Regions from separate parts of the Homo sapiens genome. Here all the other regions are linked to region 2. The links are contacts of gene promoters, found by promoter capture Hi-C in blood cells and fetal thymus (Javierre and others, 2016). All regions are on one chromosome and are shown on one strand. Each heading gives the region's core, a stretch centred on a gene start or on the middle of the fragment in contact. The rest is flanking DNA. Distances are from core to core; before and after follow the strand shown. Region 1 has its middle 34 kb from the start of RNASE3. Region 2 holds the start of CCNB1IP1 (cyclin B1 interacting protein 1). Region 3 holds the start of SLC39A2 (solute carrier family 39 member 2). Region 4 holds the start of RNASE3 (ribonuclease A family member 3). Region 5 holds the start of ARHGEF40 (Rho guanine nucleotide exchange factor 40).

Region 1 (4,948 bases), core at 925-3,424, 520 kb after region 2:
GTTATAGGGAAAGGTCTTCCAGGGCCTAAACATTTGTAAATAAAGAAAAAAGTTGACATAAATAGAATTTATTACAGAGCTTTTCATGTTCTAAGAGGCACTGTAAATATCTAAGAACCAACTACGGGAAGCAGATTTCCTAAATGTATTTGAATGGGTCCTATGGAAGAATCACTCTTTCTCCTCAACAGAGCATCCAGTAGGATCAGTGTTCCTGTAGTATTGGCCCTCTAGGATACAAGAGGATTAGGGACCCTTAAAAATCACTATCAGGAGAACAAAATGGAAATGAAATGAAGGTCACGGGGGAGACGGCTTTATTTACTTTTACCTCCTCAGAATGGTTTCAGTGTCTATTTTGGTTATTCTTTTTAAAGCCTCATAAGGTGGTAACTATTGACTAATGTTAATCAGTAAATTTACTTGACCCCTTTCTCCCCCTTTACAGCACCTTGCGGGATTAGGGGTCCTACAACATTGTCTTCTAAAGTAAAGAGGAATGAAAGAACTTTGAAATTCACTATTCAGGAGAGGAAAAGAAGCACAAACCAAGTGAGAGAAATGGCTCCATTTTAACTCTCTTAGAAGGTCCTAGTGACTTTTCAGATTGCCCTTTGTAAAGGCATGGTAACTATCGTAGCCATACATTAGTATGAATTAGAATCAAACATTCCATCACACCACCAATTTCCAGAGGATGCATTAGGATACTGAAGATACAAATGCATCTTCCAACACTCCCTCTGTCATGCTCCCACATGACTCTTGGTCCCATGGAAACCCTTGAGATAGGTCACTGAGTAAAGGAAGAAGCCAGTTCTTGGTAGGATTGACTGAACTGGCTAAAGAGCTCATTCCCAAGGTGGATGGTCAGCAGTCCAAAGTAAAATGCCTAGTAGATTGAGGCTAATATCAGAATTCTAGAAGAACCAACCCAGTGGGGGAGTAGGTTTCAAGCACTGGCTAACGCTATAAGTCACGTGGGAGCCAGGGTAATGTTTCAGTGAGCAGTCCATTGACAGAAGTTCTGAAACAGGACCCAGCCCTCAGCAGGAGAGCGCTGGTGAGAGATTTGAATCGCTAGGGTCTGGTCATGGTGTCAGTCCCAGAGGACATCTAGTGTTCAAAGCGGGAAATTCAGACAGACGATCACTGAGATATAGAACAGAGGGTAGTATAACATATAATTGGTAGAACATTCTAATTTACACATTTAATGACTTTTTGCAAACTCAGCATGCTAATGTACTACCTGTCTCTCCATTCATCAATGAAACACTTTCTGAGCATAGACTCTGTGCCAGGCAGACCGCTAGGTACTGGAGATGCAAAACACATAACCTAGTCCCAGGGAGCTTCTAGTCCAGTGGACTCACTAGACAGAGCCTTTCATCTTTCTCCACGCACAGCCAGATTCCAGGCATTAGGGAAGGAAGAGAGTATCTGCCACACTGGAAACTTCATCTTCTCATGTGCTTATTGTTTGTATCCCCTTGTATTCTTCTTTCCTCCTTTCCTTTTCTTGGCTCCTTTTCTTCCTTTCAGATATTTCATATCCCCTAATCTATTTTTTTTTTTTTGAGATGGAGTCTCACTCTGTCACCCAGACTAGAGTGCAGTGGCGCGATCTTGGCTCACTGCAACCTTCGCCTCCCAGGTTTAAGCGATTCTCCTGCCTCAGCCTCCTGAGTAGCTGGGATTACAGGCATGCGCCACCACACCCGGCTAATTTTTTGTATTTTTAGTAGAGATGGGGTTTTGCTATATTGGCCAGGCTGGCCCCTAATCTATTGTATTACATGGCTCACATTTTATTGTAGCACAAGTGTGTTTCTGTCTTCAACAATGTGTACTGACTTGGACATCCCAGAGTCAATAATCTGGAGATACTCTGACTTGTATTATTAGTAGTAGGCCTCACGTATTTTTGTGTTTTTACCTAATAAACTTCCAGCTTATTAGAGAATGCTAATCCAGGAGATCCTGGTTTATGTTAGAGTTTGTAGACCACTACTTCAGAAAAATCAGGAGTGTTTGTGAATTCATGATCACACATAGTAGTGAGAGCAAAAAGACACAGTCTAAGGGCATTTGTTTTTTAAATGATTCTAATAGAAATATTCCACATTTTTATAGAATTATCTTGTTTCCCAACTAACAAAAATCTGTACAACAATAACTTCTAACTTTTGGCAATGAGTAGAAAGGGTGGTTCTCACGAATGCTACCACACAGTGGAAATTTCCCCATCCACATTGAGACTGAGGAAGAGATAATCATCAAAAAAATCAGCCCCTTTCCCAGTTAAGGTTCTCTCTTTCTCTCTCTCTCTCTCTCTCTCTCTCTCACACACACACACACCACACACACTTCAAAGCCCTTCTTTAAGTTAGGCCAGGAAAGAGCAACTGAGGCGCCCAACATACAGACCCCTTTACCTTTTCAGAGATTGTCTTTGCAAGTCAGGATCTAATACTGGGGTTCAAGGTAAATTTGATATTACACCCACATGGATATAATTTCATATTCTCCCTATTCTGGACCCTGAGATGGAAAGAGCATAGAGACAGGGCCCAGAGATTTTCCAGCAAGAAAATTAAAGAACATATGTGAGGCAGGATAGTTTGCTGAGATACTACTTTTTCTTTCTTCTCTTTGTATTTTCCTCATGCCTCTAGTTCCAAGCAGAGAGCCAGACCCTTTTGCAATTCCTTAGGATATCTGCAGAATGGAAAGGAGGAAGTGTATGAAGCCAAACTTAATCTTACTGTCTTTTGAGAACCCTGAAATTTGGTGAAAATAAATTGCCTCTTGAAAAGTGTGGCAAAGTTGAGATTGGAGAGAGACTGAGGGCGAAGTTGGAGGGGAGGAAAAATGCAGAGGAGAGGCAGCATGGTGAACCTAGGCTGACTCCAGGCACAGAAGATCCGGACCGCCATGAAAACCCCCACGCCCTCAAGAATGAAACAGAAGCAGCTCAGCTAAGGTTTCTGTGCACCTTCTAAACCGAGGAAGGGGAGCCGGGTCAATCAGGCTCAGAGGTAGAGATGCCTAGCTCACTGCTTGCCGGCAGGGGGCGCTCTCCTATTATTGTATTTTCTTTTTTGAGGACATCAAGACTCAGTGTGCAAAAATTCTCATCAAAGATACAAATTCAAATGTGGTTGCTTTTGTAAAAATACCCATCTTCACAACCCCAGACTACTCCTCAACTCGTGCTTGCTGGAGGCTCCACCCTCTGCATTCTCTTCATTACTTCGGGTCTCTTTGACTTGTCTCTTGTAAGGACGAAGGCTTCGCCAGCATCGGCACACATCTGCTGCCTGATCTGGCCATGTGAACCACTGTCCATCCCTCAGAGGCAAATTCCTCCCACAACACCTGACTTACACCAGCCTTTTCTATCCAGAGACCTTGGCACCAGGATTAAAAAGCAAGTATCTCCTTTATTTGCCTCTATTTGGTGGCCGGATGCTAACACAGTACGATTTTCACCTTTTCTCCCTTCTCTTAACTCTCCCATTTAGCTACACAGGTTTGAGGTTAAGCCTAGGATATAGTTGTACACATTAATTATTATTTTACTTGACTTCAAGTAGACTTCTCAGGATATCATTTTGGACTGCTTTCTTGGGATGTTTACTGTGACTCAGAGATGAAAGGTCTTCAGTGACACAGTCCACCTTCCCCCTCCAATGGATACAAAGAATCAGAAGAGTAAAGAGAGAGGTGTTTTTTGCCCCTTTGTCAAGTCTAGAGACAGCAGATTCCCTGGAAACTTCCTAGGTTTGTCTAAGCCTCCCTAGTTTACATTCATCTCTTCTCCTTTAGTCTATAGTGAAGATGGAGATCTCTTGACCTAAATAACATGTTCAAGCATGATCTGTCCCTGTCTTAAAGATTTATTCTTGTTCATTATATTATATCCTACAATCACCCTTGTAAGCATGGTAAGTATGATTTAAAGTCTTCACTTTCTGAGCTTCAGACTAAATAATTCTATTTCTTTCCTCATTTTTCCATAAGCATGGACTTACAAATAATTCAATTCACTTTCTCCATTTTCTCCATCATCATGAACTTACTTAAATCCAGGTGTCCAGTGTGCTGGGTAAGGATGACTGACCAATAAGTATCTTTCCTGTGGGCACTCAGTTCATAGTGTGTGTGTGTGTGTGTGTGTGTGTGTGCACATGTGGTTTGGGAGTGATAGATCTTGTTTTACACACAGAGGTAAGACCCACTTTCCAGCTGGATAGGAAGATGGGGAATAATAAACACAGAAGTCCACCTCATGTCAAATGCAGATCCAGGTGCTAGGGAGACATGGATGAATACGTGTGTCTTTTTCCTGGTGATCTCTTAATTAAATTAAAGCTAAGACTCTGGACACAGCAAACCTAAAGAGGAAATATTCTCCATAGAATAGTGGGCATACTCTGTAGTTACCTCTCTCTATCCCCTAATCCTGTAGAAAAGAAAGTTCATATGCATCAAAAGATGAAAATGCATCAGGTCTGACAATAAGCTTAGCCTTGTTACCTAAAAAAGCTAATGTCATGCTAGCTTTTTCACAGCTATATACACCATGTGATTTTGTATATGTGGCTTTATTTCCCATATAGTCATGGAACTAGTCGGGCAGAGCACCCTGGGTTTGGTTTCTGTCCTGTCATTTGCTTGCAGTGGCAGCTTAACAAATTCCTTTGCCTTTTCTAGTACTGACTGCCTTATTTTTAAGGGCCTTTCTGCAGCTAATACAGGCCATGGTATTGCTTCTTAGTGGCTCAGATGGGACAGGCACTTTGCTTAGGTCCCACAAGACTTTTAATGATATCTGTATCTGTTTTCAGACAACGCCCAAGCTTTCCTCCTAAAACCTAGCTTTGCCTTCTTAAGAATGACAGAAGACAAAGGGAAGAGTCAATAATAATAATTCTTGGAGAAA
Region 2 (4,689 bases), core at 2,040-4,539:
CTGGCATGGAGTTAAATGTTTAATATGTTATTTCTATGTCTTGCCCAAGCTCAACCAGCTAGTGAGTAGAAAGGCAAATATTCTGCCTAAAAATTTCACACTTTTCCACAGCCATAAAAAAAAAAAAAACAAAAAACATGTCCTTTGCAGCAACTGGAGCTGCTGGATGCTGCTGGGGGCCATTATCCTAAACGAATTTATGCAAAAACAGAAAACCAAGTATTGCATGTTCTCACTTATAAGTGGGAGCTAAATCTTGCGTTGGGAGCTAAATCTTGCGTAGGGAGCTAAATACTGGGTTCACAGGAACAAAAAGTTGGGAACAATAGACACTAGGTACTCCAAAAGGAGGAAAAGAGAGAGAGGGGCAAGAGCTGAAAAACTTCCTATTGGGTACAATGTTTACTACCTAGATGGCAGGATCAATAGAAGCCCAAACCTCAGCATCATGCAATATACCCTGAAACAAACCTGCACATGTACCCCGTGAATCTACAATAAAAACAAATTTAACAACAAAAAGTCACACTTCTCACAATAACCCAGAAGCCAGAAAGGTCACTCATATAGTACTCATAAGGGCCCTTCCAACTCCAAGATATTGTGTCCTTTTTTTTTTTCACTCTTGTTGCCCAGACTGGAGTGCAATGGCGCGATCTCGGCTCACCACAACCTCCACCTCCCGGGTTCAAGCGATTCTCCTGCCTCAGCCTCCCGAGTAGCTGGGATTACAGGCATGCACCAACACGCCCGGCTAATTTTGTATTTTTAGTAGAGACGGGGTTTCTCCATGTTGATCAGGTTGGTCTCGAACTCCCGACCTCAGGTGATCCACCCTCCTCGGCCTCCCAAAGTGTTGGGGTTACAGGCGTGAGCCACCGCGCCCGGCCATATTGTCCTTCAAGCAAAAAAGACACAGGTTTGCTTCCCCCTTCCCCTCATTTCCTACTTAACAATGAAGACTCCAATGTATTATGAAGTCTTATTAACAAAAGCATGCTTCCATTGGAAAGAATGTAATGTTTTCCCAACTCACAAAACTTCCACCTAAAAAACCGGAACTAAGCCTCTTAAGACTAAAACAGCTTTGGAGAAATTCCCAAAGGCTTCCTTTTTTATTTTGCATGTTTACATCCTAAAATACATTTCAGCTTTTCCTAACTTAATACTAAAATATGCCCTCAACACCATGAGTTCAGGGGCATATCCAGCACACATTTTCTAAGTAAACACTGAAAGCATGCCCTTTCTGCCCCTGTGAATACAAAGATGACTTGGTTGTTCTGGGCCACTGCTGTCACTCCTTCCCAGCATTAAACACATGCTCATAACAAGATAAACCATCCCCACTCAAACCAAAGTGGGCAAAGATATATTCACATAAAAGCCATCAAGATGATTTTCCTTTCGGTAGAAAATCCTTTATTGCTCAATCAAGTTTAGAGTATTGATTGGTTTCTAATCACCACCGTGTACAAAATAAATATAAATAGGAAGCACTGCAAAATATCTAGAGTCCTTTTAAACAAGAATATACCAAAACCCAATTGAAATGCCTTTATGCCAACTGACTGATTTACAAGGTTATTCATTTGAGGGGGAAATATCAAGATCATAAACTATCTGAATACCTACTGATAAAAGCTAAATAAATTATAGTAGGTACATAAATTAGAATACTGAGTTACCATTATACCCTGAAAACCTACTGAAAAAATATATTTTTTAAAAAAAATAATTTTTAAAGAATACTATGTTACCATTATGAAGAATGTGAACACTCTACTCATGGAACTTAAGTGGAAAAAGTAAGACACATAGTAGAGTAGGTATAGTAAAAGGGAAGGATACCTACACATATTTGCTTATATGCATAAAATATCTTAGTAACACTGTTATGAGGGAGAGGAATTGGATGGCTTAGGGAAGGGGATAAGAAACTTTGATATCTTTTGAATTTTGAACCATGTGAATGTATTACCTATTCAAAAATATATATATATATGATGTGTATACATATATATATATATATATATATTTTTTTTTTTTTTTTTTTTTTTTTGAGACAGAGTTTCGCTCTTGTTGCCCAGGCTGGAGTGCAATGGCGCGATCTCGGCTCACCGCAACCTCCACCTCCCGGGTTCAAGCGATTCTCCTGCCTCAGCCTCCCGAGTAGCTGGGATTACAGGCATGCGCCGCCATGCCCCAAAAAATAAATTTTAACAATGCTTGAGAATTATAAAAATTATGGGAGGCCTACAAATACCTATTACTACATTCGATTAACTGGTTTATTATTTGTCTTTCTCACACTTTCTGCCTATAAGAATATCCAACACAAACATCACATTAAAATTAACATGTACCAAAAGAAAGGAATTCAGTGAAATGACATTGAAGGTCACTAAGCAAACTTTTTATGAGAAAACAGATATCCAAAATACTTGCTGTAAATAAATAAGTACTGCTTACTTCTAAAGGTACCTAACATTTATTACACACCAACTAGAGCCTAGTTTTTATATATTTTATCTGATCTTGGAAAGCTAAGCCTCGGAATGGCTCACTGCTTCTCCCAAGGTCACCAGAGCTGTAAACTGTGGCGCTGGAATTTAAATCTAGAGGCTTGCCCTGAACTAAGGTCCCTAATCTTTTTCCATAGCTTTTAAGGACACAATCACCACAGTGGCAACATTAAAAATTAGGAGCTCCTTTTAAGGCTTATCTGTCTTCAGAGTTTGCTGCCCAGGTTCACCAAGAAAGCCGAAATGATCTGAGCGAAGGCCAGGAGAAAGACAAGGTACGCTGCAGCTTCCACAAACCCAGTAAGGACCTGGGCCCTCTAGACACTCACCGGAGAATTAAACTCTACTGAGCTGAACGCCTTCTCCCGAAATCTGACCTCACCCAGGGAGATATAAATCAAAACAGCATTAGGATGATAATATCTTTCCCGCCAAGCAAAATGAAGCCGGCGTTTTCCAAGAACACACGCACTGTGCACATGAAGCACAGTCTATTGTTCCTGGGTCACCAGGACTCGGAGACGGAAGGCAAACCCAGTACTGCAGAGGCCCACGTGGAAACAAGCCAGGAAGAGCATTTCACTGCCTTCTCCCAACCTCCACACAGCCGAAATTAATCTCCTTGCGACTCACACACACTCCTATGCCGACTTGAAATAAAGGCCTGCCACCTGGGTATATAACTCAAATGGAAGAGAAATTCAAAACAATTAGAGAGCAAAATTAAGCGCACACTCACCAGCCCACCAAAACGGAGAGGGAAAGAAAGTGGAGAGACAGGAAGTCGCCTTGGGAAGTGTCTTCAGAACCTGATTGGCTAATGAGTTCAAGAGGATTCCCTCCTCCTTTACCTTAAAAGGTGCTGAAATGACGTAACCCACTCCACCCCTCTTTATGGACCAGTGATGCTTCTTGCACTATTTTTGGAGTGAACTTCTTAAACCGAGTTTCCTTTTGAGTTAATGTACTTAGGCAAAAACAGGCTAATTTAAGCTATTTATACACGTTGTTGTTTGCGTGGGCCTACTGCATTCTATTCTAAAGAATTTTCATCCCTTAAGGGTAATTTCTTATCCTTTGTGACCTCAACATGCTTAACTTATGCTAGGCAACAGATTCCATTATAAACAGTCTAGATCGATTCAAGTTAAAATTTACCTTCATTTTTTCCCCCCAGATCCAAAGCTGGCCTGATAAAATTTACCTTCAGGTAATCTTTGAACTAACAGGCTTAGTAGATAAAAGGTAGGTGGGTTAAGTGTTTTAGGCTTCAAATAAAATTTAGCTGATTTTGAATCTGAACCTTGCCACTTATTTGCACACATCTAAGCCTCAGTTCCAACTATAAAAAGAGGGAAAAAAGATGAAATCTTCCTACTCTGATGGTTATGAGGATTAAGTAAAATAATTTATATAATGTACTCAGTACAATGCCCGGTACACAGTACTCAACAATGTTAGCTGTTATTATTGTTATTACATATTTCTTGTTAGATTTATATTCCCAAGTAGACTATAAACAACTGGAGATCAAAGTGTACGTTTTACACATCTCCAGACAAAAACAATGACTTTCAATGCTGAGGACATAATTGATTAATCAATTATTTTGACTCCTCACATCGCCCTCCAGTTAAAGTATAGGTTCTTACTCTGTTAAATTTTTTTTTTTTTTGAAACAGGGTCTCACTTCGTGTCCCAGGCTGGAGTGCAGTGGTGAAATCTCGACTCACTGTAGCCTTGACCTCCCAGGTTCAAGCGATCTCCTGCCTCAGTAAGTAGCTGGGACTACAGGCGTGCACCATCACACCCAGCTAATTTTTGTATTTTTTTGTAGAGATGGGGTTTCGCCATGTTGCCCAAGCTGAAAGATTTCTTTTTAAGCCATAATTAGAGGACTCCCCGGCACAATATTCATCATTATTCTTAATAAATACTATTATAGTAATAGGGAATATATATACAAGTATGTGTTATATGTACAAATATACATGTAATGTGCAAATGTTTGAAGTATAAAGATTCAAGTTATATGGAGAAATGATACAACTCTAACTCATAGTAGTTCTCATTTTTTAATCATTTCATCCTATCCACCCTGCTTCCACCTTACTAGAAATTACCTATTCCAATCCACTTTAGAGTTTACCTGCCCCAAATTTCC
Region 3 (5,001 bases), core at 2,170-4,669, 670 kb after region 2:
TATTTCTTTTATTTCCTTTGATTTCAGGGAAAAGAGAAGTCACCTTTGGACCCTCGACCTGGTTTTGTCTTTGCCCCGGTGAGTATTACTTCTGCCTGTCCCACCACACGGATCTGAACTTAGGCGTGGCCGGGAAATGTAAGATGGTAAAGCTAAGCCACTCTCCACTACTTTGTGTTCCTATCCAGTTCCTACCTAATGATTCCCCTGGCTCTTCCTACCCACTGCTCCTGTCCTCCCTTCTCCCTGGCCCCTTTTGACTCTATTATTCTCAGTTTTTAAGTTTTGTGATTGATGGCTCTTTTGTCTTACCTCATTTTTTTATGTGTTCACAGTGTCCCCATGAACTCCCTTGTCCCCAGTTGACCAACCTGGCCTGTAGCTTCTCACAGGCGTACCATCCCATCCCCTTCAGCTGGGTAGGTACCTGGGGATATTGCAGCAGGAAGCAAACATCCTGGAAAAACAGGAAGAAAAAGAATCAGAGTTAGGAGGAGTTGGATAATTTGTAGAATAGCCTGGAGACTTTAGGGCCTACATGTATATGATTTATACATTGTAAAAAAGGACTGCAGGAATGGGGAAGAAGGGACTGTACAAACTTTTTTCCCATATCTTTTTCTTCTAAACAGTCTCTATGTTCCTTATCTTAGAACAAGAAACCAAAGGAAGAAAAGTTCTCTATGGTGATCCTTGCTCGGGGGTCTCCAGAGGAGGCTCATCGCTGGCCCCGTATCACTCAGCCTGTCCTTAAACGGCCTCGCCATGTGCATTGTCACTTGTGCTGTCCAGATGGGCACATGCAGCATGCTGTGCTCACAGCCCGCCGGCACGGCAGGTATGGGGGGTGTGACCAAAATCAGTGGGATGTGGCAGGAAGCTGCAGCCCACGCCAGCATCTGTTTCCACAGGGATTTGTATCGTTGTGCCCGTGTCAGCTCCTGGGGAGATCTTTTACCTGTGCTTACTCCGTCTGCGTTTCCTCCATCTACGGCTCAGGATCCCTCTGAGAGTTGATGAGGATGTGTAACAAGTATTTTCTTCTATCGTGCCTGCCAGGGCTGAAGCTGCCTGGTATCCAGGAGGGGAATGCTGGTATCCCCATATGTCTGTGTTTGTTTGAGATTTTTAATAATAAATAATAAATTTTTGAAGAATGGAAGTGGATTTTGTGATTCTTAAAAAGTGTAGAAGCTGGGCACGGTGGCATGTGTCTGCATTTCCAGCCACTCAGGAAGCTGAGGCAAGAGGATCACTTGAGCCCAGGTGTTAAGGCTACAGTGAACTTTGATTGTAACACTGCACTTCAGCATAGGTAACAGAGCAAGACGTCCTCCCTTAAAAAAAAAAAAAAAAAAAAAACATGTAAAAGGTATAGTTAATTATCCTGGCCTATCCTGTAATGAAGAGCTTCCTCAGATTTTTGGTGCCAGGCTTCCCACACAAATCTCAAGCTCGCCCTCTCCTATTGTGGCAGTTCAGAGCTCCATAAGCTCTTCGCTGTAATGATGAATGTGTAAGCTGATCATTAAAGCAGAAGTAGAAAAACCAGATTTCCATAAGCCCTTTGCTATAATGATGAATGTACAAGTTAAACATTAAAGCAGAAGCAAGAAAAATGGATAAGGAATCGGGGGAAACTGGTGCCTGAGTACGAAAGCCAGAATACAAAAAAAGCAAGCCCTTTAAAGCCCCACCTATACTTTCTCTACCTCAGATCTAGCTGAGTGATAAAAGCATTCCTGCACATACAACCCATCCCAGGACCAACTTAAGATTAAGAAACTTCTGTCTGCAAGTACTCACTCACTATGGTGGGATCAGCTGCAAAGCGAACTGTCCCATGCTCATGTTGATGGTTTTCTAGATACTGCCAACATGTTAGCTCTTTCTGGTGCCGATGAATTTCAAACGCGAACAGACACCCTTGATGTGGGTTTGCTAAGAAAATAGAAGAACAGGAAGAAAAGTTGCCAGGTTCAGACATCCCAGGGAAAAAGAAGCGTAAACAGCATTAGCAATCAGTGACTGATGATAATGCTGCAATAATGGGAATGGTTTTATTTCTAAATCAAATCGTTTATTGCTTTGTTTCTAAAAAACAAAAAAAAAACTTCTACCTGCAGACCCCTAGTTTAGATTAATTAGGAAACATTCCCGCAGGTAGTCATAGAGCTTGAATTGTATATAAAAGCTAAAGAAAAGCTTGTAACTTTGAGTTGGTCTGGTGTGCTACTCCGACCTCCCTGTAATCAGTTGCAGAAATAAACTCCCGTCTTTCCCAGTCTGTCTGTCTGCATCTCATTACCGGACCACAAGAACAAGCAGCAGGACCAGTAACACTGTAAGAATCATCCAGTAACACTGTAAGAATACTGCTTCTACCAGAGGCCAGGACTTCCCTAGGAAAATAATCTGGAGTAGCAAGGAAAGCTGCCTCCAGAGCTCTGAGAACTGGCTCAACAGGTCTCAGGGTTGTTATGTGGGCCACCTGAATAGGGGAATCAGCAGCTGCCTGGCCTCTTGTACTAACGCCTTCCCTTCTGTCTTTCCCAGGGTCCCTCAGCTACCCTAGAGTATGTATGGGAAATGCCCCAGACATTTCCATCAAGAGTGATTCCCATCAGAACTGAATCTTCTACCCCCACCTCTCTATATCCAGGTAGAATCCTCCCATTCACTCAGTTCATTTCTGTTTTCCCCTAAGCCTTGCTGTTTCAGGGCTAGAGCAGCTTCCTTTGTCTTAAACCTTAAATGTCTTTTTTTCCACAGTTCTTACCAGGAAACAGGCACAGTTAGAAGTTGTAACAGTATAAATGTTGTAATACCAGACATCTCAACTCATTCCTCTCAAAACTGATCCCAATCAAAAGAGAAAGAAAAAAAACAAATCAACTTACCACTAGACATTTCCATGCCTGGAGCTATTTTTCTGGGGTTACAGGAAAGGGTAGTTCCCTCATGTGGGTACTAGTTCCCACAGAGTAGCACCAGCACCACCTCTCAGCCCCACCTCTTTACCTCCAGGTGGCCCCAAATCTCTGAAAGCGGGTGGTTCAAGTATCAGCATTGCAACCTATAAGACTTGGGATGAGGTGGAGAGGGTATGGAAGGCTTAGATCAAACGTCCTGAGTGAGACAGGACCAGATTGTCCCCAGTACAAAATAGCTGGGAAGCAGCTACCATAGACTTTCCTATTTTGGATTAGACCAACCCCAAGCACATGAACTAAGACTATCCGTAGCTCTTGGATTAGTCATGCCATTGAAGAGGAGGAGAAGACGCCACTGGGCTGTGCCTGGCAGGGAGTCTGGAGTTTCTGGTTTCCAAGCTCAGGAAGGCGTGAACCAGGGGAGGGGCCTCCATGCAGGGGGAGGGCTAGAAGCTGGGGCAGGATCTGTCAGCTCTGCAATGCTGCAGAAGCAGAAGCAACACAGAAAGAAGATACCAACAGCCTCCTGAAACTCACGAGAGTGGACACTCCAGTGTTGACCACCTAAGATACCACTCCTGCTCCAAAGATTACAGCTCCCTTGTCATTCTGACTCCTGGGCTTACCCTACACCCCAGAGATGGAGCAACTACTAGGAATAAAACTTGGCTGCCTGTTTGCCCTGTTGGCTCTCACTCTGGGCTGTGGCCTTACTCCCATCTGCTTCAAATGGTTCCAGATTGATGCAGCCAGAGGTATAGCCCTACCCCATCTTTGTTCCATAGCCTGAGTCTCACCTCAACCCTGTCCTGATACCTTGCTCTGATTCTCTCACCATCCCCAACCTTGGGATATTGAGTGCTGCCTGCTGCTCTTTACTCACCTTTGTCTGTCTCCTCAGTGTCAAGTGGGTTGTAACTTCTGCTTTTTATTAGGTCATCACCGGCTAGTCCTCAGACTCCTGGGCTGTATTTCTGCTGGTGTTTTCCTGGGAGCAGGGTTCATGCATATGACTGCTGAAGCCCTGGAGGAAATTGAATCACAGATTCAGAAGTTCATGGTGCAGGTGAGAGCAGAGATTTCAAGCCGCAGGTCTATGAGGCCAAAATGATAAACAGGACAAAGGGAAGAGAGCGGGAAAGTGATGGAGCCAAGGACATGGGTGGAACGACAAGGAAAATGACAGCTCTTGTGTGGGATGGTGAAAGCAAGTCAGATTAGGCTTTAAGGAAAACAGAATTGCTGAAGGGACAGCACAGGAAGCTGTGCTGCTCCATCCCACATCTAATTTCTGCTGCTTTCTTCTTAGAACAGATCAGCAAGTGAGAGAAATTCTTCTGGTGATGCTGATTCAGCTCATGTAAGTACCTCCCACCATCCCCTATCTGGAGAGTGAGGAGAACCAGAGAGGCCTTTCATATCCAGACCCTTTTGAGAGGAATACATGAGGAGTACCAAGAATCCCTTCTGCTCCCTAGCTCAGACATCGTAGAGGAAAAGAGGAGCAAATCCAATCCTTTTGAGTTTATAGAATGCCAGGGAAAGCCCTTGTTTTACTCTTTCATTCTTTCCCTGGATCCTCTGATATACCTCACATCATTTGCCCATGTTTTTAACTCTATTGAGATTCTGTCCCTTAGCCCCTCTGGCAGTCTTTTGTTGTTGTTGTTTTTCGTTTGTTTGTTGAGATGAAATCTCTCTGTCGCCCAGACTGGAGTACAGTGGCACAATCTCGGCTCACTGCAACCTCTGCCTTCCGAGTTCTAGTGATTTTCCTGCCTCAGCCTCCTGAGTAGCTGGGATTACAGGCACGTGCCACCACACCTGGCTAGTTTTTGTATTTTTAGTAGAGACGGGGTTTCATCATGTTGGCCAGGCTGGTCTCAATCTCCTGACCTCAAGTGATCTGCCCACTTCAGTCTCCCAAAGTGCTAGGATTACAGGCATGAGCCACTGTGTCCGGCCCACTCTGGCATTCTTGTTGTTGCATGGCCATGTCTACTCTTGGCTTCATTTCCCCTACCCTTTTTTGTGTTCTGTTACCACATTTTCTCATTCTCTTCAATCT
Region 4 (4,712 bases), core at 950-3,449, 560 kb after region 2:
ATTGTGTCGAGCGCCTGTAATCCCAGCTACTCAGGAGGCTGAGGCAGGAGAATCACTTGAACTTGGGAGGCGGAGGTGGAGGTTGCAGTGAGATCACGCCACTGCAGTCCAGCCTGGGTGACAAGAGCAAGACTCCGTCTCAAAAAAAAACAAAAAACAAAAAACTCCACAATTTTAAAGGATGAATATGGTTGCAAATTGGGCAGGTTATGGTCTGCTTAAGACACTTCAATAAGTCTGATATGTCATAAGCACAGATGTCTTCAGGAGCCAGGCAGGTGTCATCACTGAACAGATAGGATAAAAGTCAGGAGGGAGAGTGGAGTCAGAGAACAGCCCTGAGCTAGAGCCCCTTCCACAGACGCAGCTGTTACTCAGCTCTAATTGATACAACACCAATGGTGCACCAACCACCATCATGTGATTTTTAAAGATAAGACAGTAATGAAAACTTTTAGTGAACTATTCCAATGTCAAACTTTATCTTCCAAACCAAACATCATAAATAGCACTGTGTATGCTGAAAAGAAGCACTGTTTAGCCAAGTACCTGCCCTGGGGCTGCAGTCTATGTCTTTTGCCTCATACTATAGACACTTAAGTGCAAATGTTTCTAGCCAGTGTGGCTGTCAGCATCACAGAGGGGATACTCTACGTATCATTCACCTTTACATTCTCATCACCTACAAAAATGATCTCCACACAATATACATGAAAAAATAAACTTGCCTCATGATAAAGCTGCTAATGAATGTCGGCCAGAACAGGACTTCAAGGCAGAGCAATATTAGCTGCGCATTGAGTCCTCACCAGGTCACCATTGTGTCCACATTTACCTAAGGACCCCAGTGATAAAATTATTGCATTTCTAAATGACAGGAAAATTGGACGGTAGTAAAAATTAGGCAGATTAACTGTTGGAAGGTATATTATATCATTTAAGGGTCTACTTTCCATTTTCTAATCTCAAAGCTAGACCAGATTTAACATCTGTTAGTACCCAGGCCTTACCTTTGCAATTCACTTCTCACCTCTGTACAATTTCCCCACATCATCCCCTGTGCCCAGAATGCTCATCTCTTCTCTAAATCCCCTGAAAATCCCCTGCTTATCCTTTAGGACCTGCTGAAATAAACTTTTTTTTGAAGTTTTCCTTATTTCTCAAGCCAAGTGATTTCCTTCACCAGCAGTGTCCCTATGACACCATGTTCACACAAATGCTATTACCTCTATCACACTGTAATACAATTATATGTCTACAAGTACTTTCCTGTGTTTCTCTGAGGGCCAAGAATAAATGTATGCTTTGTGTATCAAACTGTACACTTGACCTCTATACTTTCAGGAATACAGTGCTCTGTCCTTAAATGTTCATTTGTAAATACAGAACCATATTCTTGTTAATATCACAAAATGAAACTTACCAGGAAGATGAATGACAACCCCAGAACACACTGTTTTGTAGAAAATACCATAGGCTGAAAAGATCACAGGAATACCGAGTGCTAGGTTGGAATCTTTCATGACACCAAATGTTCATTCATCCTCTGCCAGATTTTACAACTGTCCTCGGTGTGTTTTTAGGTTATGTAACTTTACACAAAGTGGAATCAATAATCAGGGCAAGACTTAAGAGAAAGTGGATCCAATGCAAGAGGAGTAAAGAAAAAAATTCCTCAATTGTATGGAGCAGATTGTTTTAATTATCTACAGAATCTTGTGCCCCAAGAAATTAATAGCTCAAGTTTCCAGCAAGAGTGGTGGATGAGATGGAGAGCATTTATGTGAGAGAGAACCAAGGATATTACTAAAAATGGAAGGGAAGCTGGGTTTCTCCTGGGCAAACAGCCCTCTGTGGCTCTATTTCTCCTAACTACTATGCCTGCCTTCGTGTCATTTAGTCATTTAGGGGCCTGCCAGAGGACAGTTATAAAATCTGTGGTCATTCTGCCGGCAGCGTATAGTTTTCACCCAGAGTCCAGATCCCACCGGCAAAACTCTGTCTAACACAGGATGACTTGGAATTAGAGTCCGTATAGCAGAAAGAGCAGCAGGGCTGTCCTTGGGTATCCGTTGCTCAGCCAAGTCATCAAATAAAAAGGATGATTGCACAAGTGGACCATGTGTCAATCTGTGGGTTTCTGCATGGCCAGACCCACCAAGGGAAGCTTTATTTAAACAGTTCCAAGTAGGGGAGACCAGCTGCCCCTGAACCCCAGAACAACCAGCTGGATCAGTTCTCACAGGAGCCACAGCTCAGAGACTGGGTAAGTCAACAATCCCCAGAGCTGGGACAGGAGGGGCAGCGACAGGGCAGCACCTGAGGGAGAGGTGAGCTGAAGTTAGTGCTTAGGAGATGTGGCACACTTTGGGGACAGGAAGAAAAGGAAATGCGACCCCAGAGTGGCAGCAGAGGGGCCTGTGGGTTGAGACACTATAGAGTGTGTCATAACCGAGACCGGATCGGGGAGTAGTTACTTCTCTTCTTTTCTTACAGGAAACATGGTTCCAAAACTGTTCACTTCCCAAATTTGTCTGCTTCTTCTGTTGGGGCTTATGGGTGTGGAGGGCTCACTCCATGCCAGACCCCCACAGTTTACGAGGGCTCAGTGGTTTGCCATCCAGCACATCAGTCTGAACCCCCCTCGATGCACCATTGCAATGCGGGCAATTAACAATTATCGATGGCGTTGCAAAAACCAAAATACTTTTCTTCGTACAACTTTTGCTAATGTAGTTAATGTTTGTGGTAACCAAAGTATACGCTGCCCTCATAACAGAACTCTCAACAATTGTCATCGGAGTAGATTCCGGGTGCCTTTACTCCACTGTGACCTCATAAATCCAGGTGCACAGAATATTTCAAACTGCACGTATGCAGACAGACCAGGAAGGAGGTTCTATGTAGTTGCATGTGACAACAGAGATCCACGGGATTCTCCACGGTATCCTGTGGTTCCAGTTCACCTGGATACCACCATCTAAGCTCCTGTATCAGCAGTCCTCATCATCACTCATCTGCCAAGCTCCTCAATCATAGCCAAGATCCCATCCCTCCATGTACTCTGGGTATCAGCAACTGTCCTCATCAGTCTCCATACCCCTTCAGCTTTCCTGAGCTGAAGTCCCTTGTGAACCCTGCAATAAACTGCTTTGCAAATTCATCTGGAAGTGTCTGTGTGTCTTCCTCGGCCGCTCTGCTGTCATTTAGTGACAATCTGCTCTAGAGATTTGGGTTTATCATGAATCTCTCCCCCTCAATATCTGACCAAATTCCTTAATTCCCCCATCATCCTTCATGTGATACCTGATTCCAGGCCTGCCTTAAAAAAAAATCCAATTGAGTCAACTTAGCATTGGTCTCCCTAGCCTTAATATCTCCTCTAAGCAATTTTCCATCCACTGACTCCTCCCCCAACACCAACCTATAACTTGTGTATAGATCTCCACTTGTTTTAGTTGTATTCCAGAATTGAGCCCAATTTGATATTGAGGTCCCATTTGATGCTTTATGGTCCGACTATGGTTTTTATTGACATGATTTCTATCCCAAGAAAAAAAGAGCTGCAGTGAATCAGCTGAAAATGCACGTGCTTCATTATGATTTATGAATGATAAATTTTGATAGAATTGAACGTTATGATAGAAAATAGAAAAGAAGAAAGTAGAAAAAGTCAAGAATGCTATAAATAAGGTGAAACCAAGATAAAGAAAAGTTTAGCCTCAGGGATATTTCTTTTAAATGGGCACATCAAGTCTCCAGCTATTAGCAATCGTAATAGAGGTGGAACCAGGGTTTGAGTCAAATGTGCAATAAGATAAATTGTTCCGACAGCAGTAAGGACAGATTGTAATGCTGACTGGAGGAGAGGTGGACATCTTTCCCAAAAGTTCCATGTCCTGGAGATGGGGAGCCGCTGGTCACGTGGGAAGGAGAAGGGGGAGGAGGAGGAGGAGGAAGTGGGAGCACTCATGAAGGTGAGTTGGCTCCTGCCCATTCTGCCCTCCATAGATGTTCCCAATGGCGAGTCAAAGGTTCATTCAACACCTGTCAGGAAGGGCACAGCCTCGAGAATTCAGGATTTGTAGACCCAGAGAGAGAAGAAATGGATGATGAGAGCCGCTGCCCTGGACTCCAACACAGGGCTTCACTCAGGAATCCATGAGAAACAGGGGAGAAAAAGGGGAAGCCCCTTCCTGCAAGTTGTGGACAGGTGCAGCATTCAAGTGATTGTTCCAGGAACAGAGTGGGTCTTTTTGAATGGCCCGACTCAGAATGCAAGAGAGGTACGATGCCATCAGATCTGCACCTTGGTCCTTCAGTCTGAGATTTCTGACTTCTATATTTCTCCTCCTCTTCCAGACCCTGAGAAACAGCAATTTCCATTCCTCAGATGACTCCATGTCAGTAATGGTGCTTTAATTGGCATCAGACAGCAGCTGTATTGAAGTCTCTCCTCTGGAGAAGCTATTGAGATCTTGCTTCTCCAAGGTCGGGCTGTGAACTTAAAAGTTTGCACAGAGACACTGAGTTTGGGAAATCTCAGTGCTCAACAGAATCCACTGACTCTAGGTAAAACAGGGCATGTCAGGAAGTGAGTGCAGTCTTCCCATAACCTCAGAGTAGCAGAAGGAGAAGGTGGGACTCTGAAAGCTGGAGCCACGTTTCCTGTGAAGAAAGATGGAGTGGACCTTCCTTGCTTCAGGTACCAG
Region 5 (3,123 bases), core at 624-3,123, 740 kb after region 2:
TTGGACCCTACCAAGTGTTCCCTAAACAATTTGCTGCAGTTTAAGGAATGGAAGGCCTGGTGAGGAAAGGTTCAGACACTCTCAACACCGAGAATAGATGAGCTAGGTTTGAGACAGGTGAATAAGGTTTTTTAAACACTGGCCCCTGTAACCCGCCCCTGGGCAGTATTTACGGAATGGACACCAGGGGGTAGCAAAATCTCACTCTCCTAGCTCGCGGGCCCTCGTAATAGAGAACCTGGAGAGTGTCGGTGACTCGAGGGTCCCCTAGCCGGGTGTTAGAAAGAGCTCCAACTCCACGGCTCTAACTGTGCGGGGAAGATGGTTACCGGGGCTTGTTGCCATAGGTTCTTTTTTGACGCATGGAGCAGAGGCCTCTTCTTGCCTCTAAGAAGGATGAACACTTGCTCTGTCCTTTTCCAGGCTCAGCGGAGCGGAGAAAAAGGTGGAGGTTAGCGTCCAGAGGAGGTGAGAGAAGAGCAAGTCACCTTGGCGGCACCCCCGCCTCCCCTCCCGCTGTTCCAACAACTGCCCAGAGGCTCCGGCCTCCGAGGAACTGCAGGCGAGGCCAGACGTTTTCTCATCATCGCCCTCCAGCTGCAGGGGCACACGCGTTCACGCCCCTCCGGGGACTATTCGGCTTTCCGATCTCCTCTCCTCTCCCTTCCGTCCACCCTTTAGAAGAGCTCACGGAGCTGCGGGGCTTCCCGGTGCCTGCTCAGAGGCCAGGCAGGGCATCTCCCCGCCGTGCCCGTGCCTCCCCCCGGGCTCCTGGGAGACCCCCCATCTGGCCTTCCTTTCTCATTCAGACACTGTCGGGGGACGCTCGGGGTTTGATGAGGGAGTGAGGCTAGAACTTTCGTAACTAGCCCACCCTGCTTTGTCTCCTGCGCCAGATACCCACCCATTCCCATGGCCACGAGCCCTAGCGGCCCTGCGGGACTCTATAGCCACCCCAACAGAAGGAAGGGGCTGGCATCCAGTACCGAATCCTCGAACTGGAGGCCTGGTGCCTTCCCTCTTCTAGCCGAATAGAGAGGTAGGGATGCGGAAGGGAAGGGCCACGGAGGAGAGAACTCAGAAAATGTCCGGCGAAATGCACGCCCCTACATAAGCATCCCGATCCGGGAACCCTGCCCCCTTGGCCAGGATGTCCGCCCCCTATCCCAAGCCTTCGCTGCTCCCTAACTCCCGCACACTCCCGCCTTCCCCAGGCAACACAGAGGAGCCCATTGTCAGCCCAGAGATTCCAGGCCCGAGGAGATGGAGGGAAAGGAGGGCGGGCAAGCCCCCGGGGGGTTGGGGAATCCCCTGATTTCCCGGCCCTCCGCTCTCTGCTAGGCAGGCAGGGGCCTGAAGGTCTCATTTGAGCCCTGGGTCCTGCCAAAGTCTAGAAACCGTTGAGAGAAGAGGATCCCGGGCGAGTTAGAGCGGGGAGGCTTTCCAGCCGCAGGAAGACCCCAGTTCTGGGAAGGGGCGGCCCAAGGGAATTCACGCACGCCCCAGCCTTTGGAGCATCCCTTGCCGAGGCTAAACTGATCCCGCGGGGAGCGAGGCCGTGGCGGGAAAAGAGGGGCATCCTCGGCTGGGCGGGCCTCCGAGGGTCAGGGTCGAGGTTACCCGCTGGAGGGCGGGGCGGAGAAGAAAGAAGGTTGCCGGTGAACGGGACGGATAGGCTGGGGACGCCCGGGGAACGGCAGAGATCTCGGCGCGGGAGACAGAGTCCCGGCAAGGGGTCCCGCGCGGAGGCGGGGGCGGGCGCTGAAGGGCGGGGCGGGGAGGGGCGGCCGTCTCGGCCCTCCCTGGCGGGGCCCCGCGGCCTGGAAGCCGGAGCGGGCCGAGCCGCCACCGCGGCCGGAGCTGTCCCTTAGCCAGACCCGGCGAGACACGAGCGGCGGGAGGGAGGCGGTGGCGCGCCCGGCCCCGCCCGCCCGACCAAGCGTCGGACGCGGCCCGGCGCCGAGCCATGGTGAGTCCAGCGTCGCAGCCCCCTGGGTCCCCTCGGCCTTCGCGCAGCCCGCTCCGGGCCCCCAAGTCCTCAGCCTGGTGCCTCCCGAGCCTGCCTCGGACTGTTCGGCCCCTCTGGGACTCTCCTCCCTCCCATCCCCCCTTCTTCGATTTGTCTGTCTGCCCGACTGTTTAGCTCTGTCCCCACCGGGTATTGCCCTCACCCTTTCTTCCTCCTCTCCTCCGCCTCCTCCCCCATCCTCCCTTGGGTCTCTCCCCTAATCCACACACCTCCCCGCTCCCCGCCCTCCTCTGTCCTGACCTGTGCCTTCCTTTCCTGGAGCTTCCCTCCCCCTCCTGGTCCGAGCTCCTTACCCGCGGGAGACCCCTGCGGGTTGGTCCTGCAGCGACCCTGGAAGAGGCCCGGCCCCTCGGGTCATGAGAACTGACCTGCATGGAACCACCATTTTCCATCCCTGTCCCCAACCCGGTGAGGCAGGCCCACCCATCCGGCCCTAGGGGACTGGCCACAGCTGTGGCTGGGCCGGGTCCCGGGGCATGGCCAAAGAGGGAAATTCCCGCAGAGAAAAAGAGCTGCCTCAGGATAGTTGGGGGTGCTTGGGGGGGAGCTCACAGTACCAGGGGGCGTGACACTGCCAGAGCCGACCAGAGTTTGCGGAGGAGGAAAGTGCCCCAGAGCTCTTGCTGCAGGGAACTGAAGGGCTGCCTCAGGGCACTCCTGCTACAGAGGGGAGGGAACACGAGCCGGAGCTCCCTGCAGGGACTAGGGGACCCTGGCAGCAGCAACTTGGGGCGCTGGACGCTGGAGGGTACGCTAAGGAGAAGCCCACACCAACAGGAGTGAACACTGCCCTGGGAACTTTCACTGCAGAGTACTCTGAAGCACCGCTGCGAGAGTGGGCACTGCCAGAGAGAGCGCCCACTGCAAAGAGGGCGGGGGCATGGCCAAGGGGCCGCTCGCTGCAGAGTGGAGGAGGGGGAGAGGCCTTGCCAGGGGGAGCTCACCGCAGGGAGTGGAGGAGGGGCAGGGGCACTACTGGGGCCGCCCCTCTACGGAGGGAAGGGCACCCTCTGGCAGGGAGGCTGGAGGAAAAAGAAAGAGGAACTGGGCCAGGGAGAGCTGACTCAGTCTCTCTGGTCTCCTCTCTGGTCCCC

The links. Contacts are between HindIII fragments. The CHiCAGO score rates a contact against its expected background, and 5 or more counts as called.
Region 1: a fragment that was not itself captured here is called in contact with the fragment with the promoter of CCNB1IP1 in region 2 in 15 of 17 cell types (neutrophils, total B cells, naive CD4 T cells and 12 more); the score reaches 15.6 in neutrophils.
Region 3: the fragment with the promoter of SLC39A2 here is called in contact with the fragment with the promoter of CCNB1IP1 in region 2 in 1 of 17 cell types (monocytes); the score reaches 6.9 in monocytes.
Region 4: a contact is called between the fragment with the promoter of RNASE3 here and the fragment with the promoter of CCNB1IP1 in region 2, in 8 of 17 cell types (neutrophils, total B cells, M2 macrophages and 5 more). The highest score is 12.2, in neutrophils.
Region 5: a contact is called between the fragment with the promoter of ARHGEF40 here and the fragment with the promoter of CCNB1IP1 in region 2, in 1 of 17 cell types (monocytes). The highest score is 5.6, in monocytes.

What each region holds. Positions count from the first base shown.
Region 1 is chr14:20,854,758-20,859,705 of GRCh38, forward strand. No RefSeq gene overlaps it. Among named protein-coding and RNA genes, the nearest start is that of RNASE3, 34 kb to the right of the region's middle. The HindIII fragment of the contact is 4,704 bases long and covers 1-4,526 here.
Region 2 is chr14:20,329,990-20,334,678 of GRCh38, forward strand. It overlaps CCNB1IP1 (cyclin B1 interacting protein 1), which reads right to left and starts at 3,290. Exons shown (of 7, transcript NM_021178.5): 1 at 3,265-3,290. RefSeq lists an enhancer at 3,060-3,369. The HindIII fragment of the contact is 11,464 bases long and covers 1-4,689 here.
Region 3 is chr14:20,995,874-21,000,874 of GRCh38, forward strand. SLC39A2 (solute carrier family 39 member 2) reads left to right here and starts at 3,420. Exons shown (of 4, transcript NM_014579.4): 1 at 3,420-3,688; 2 at 3,869-3,999; 3 at 4,243-4,293. The coding sequence starts at 3,574. It overlaps LOC101929718 (a long non-coding RNA gene), which reads right to left and starts at 3,290. Exons shown (of 4, transcript NR_110139.1): 1 at 2,901-3,290; 2 at 1,807-1,941; 3 at 959-1,337; 4 at 1-457. It overlaps METTL17 (methyltransferase like 17), which reads left to right. Exons shown (of 14, transcript NM_022734.3): 11 at 28-78; 12 at 336-419; 13 at 654-838; 14 at 912-1,162. The coding sequence ends at 1,017. RefSeq lists enhancers at 256-1,455, 3,479-4,678. The HindIII fragment of the contact is 5,548 bases long and covers 2,204-5,001 here.
Region 4 is chr14:20,889,186-20,893,897 of GRCh38, forward strand. It overlaps RNASE3 (ribonuclease A family member 3), which reads left to right and starts at 2,200. Exons shown (of 2, transcript NM_002935.3): 1 at 2,200-2,266; 2 at 2,497-3,163. The coding sequence starts at 2,502. The coding sequence ends at 2,984. The region is part of intron 1 of LOC100507513 (a long non-coding RNA gene); the gene reads right to left. The HindIII fragment of the contact is 4,045 bases long and covers 2,166-4,712 here.
Region 5 is chr14:21,068,431-21,071,553 of GRCh38, forward strand. It overlaps ARHGEF40 (Rho guanine nucleotide exchange factor 40), which reads left to right and starts at 1,874. Exons shown (of 24, transcript NM_018071.5): 1 at 1,874-1,969. The coding sequence starts at 1,967. It also overlaps a transcript of NDRG2 not described here. RefSeq lists silencers at 172-271, 1,807-2,026, 2,037-2,106, 2,897-3,123 and an enhancer at 2,598-3,123. The HindIII fragment of the contact is 9,571 bases long and covers 1-3,123 here.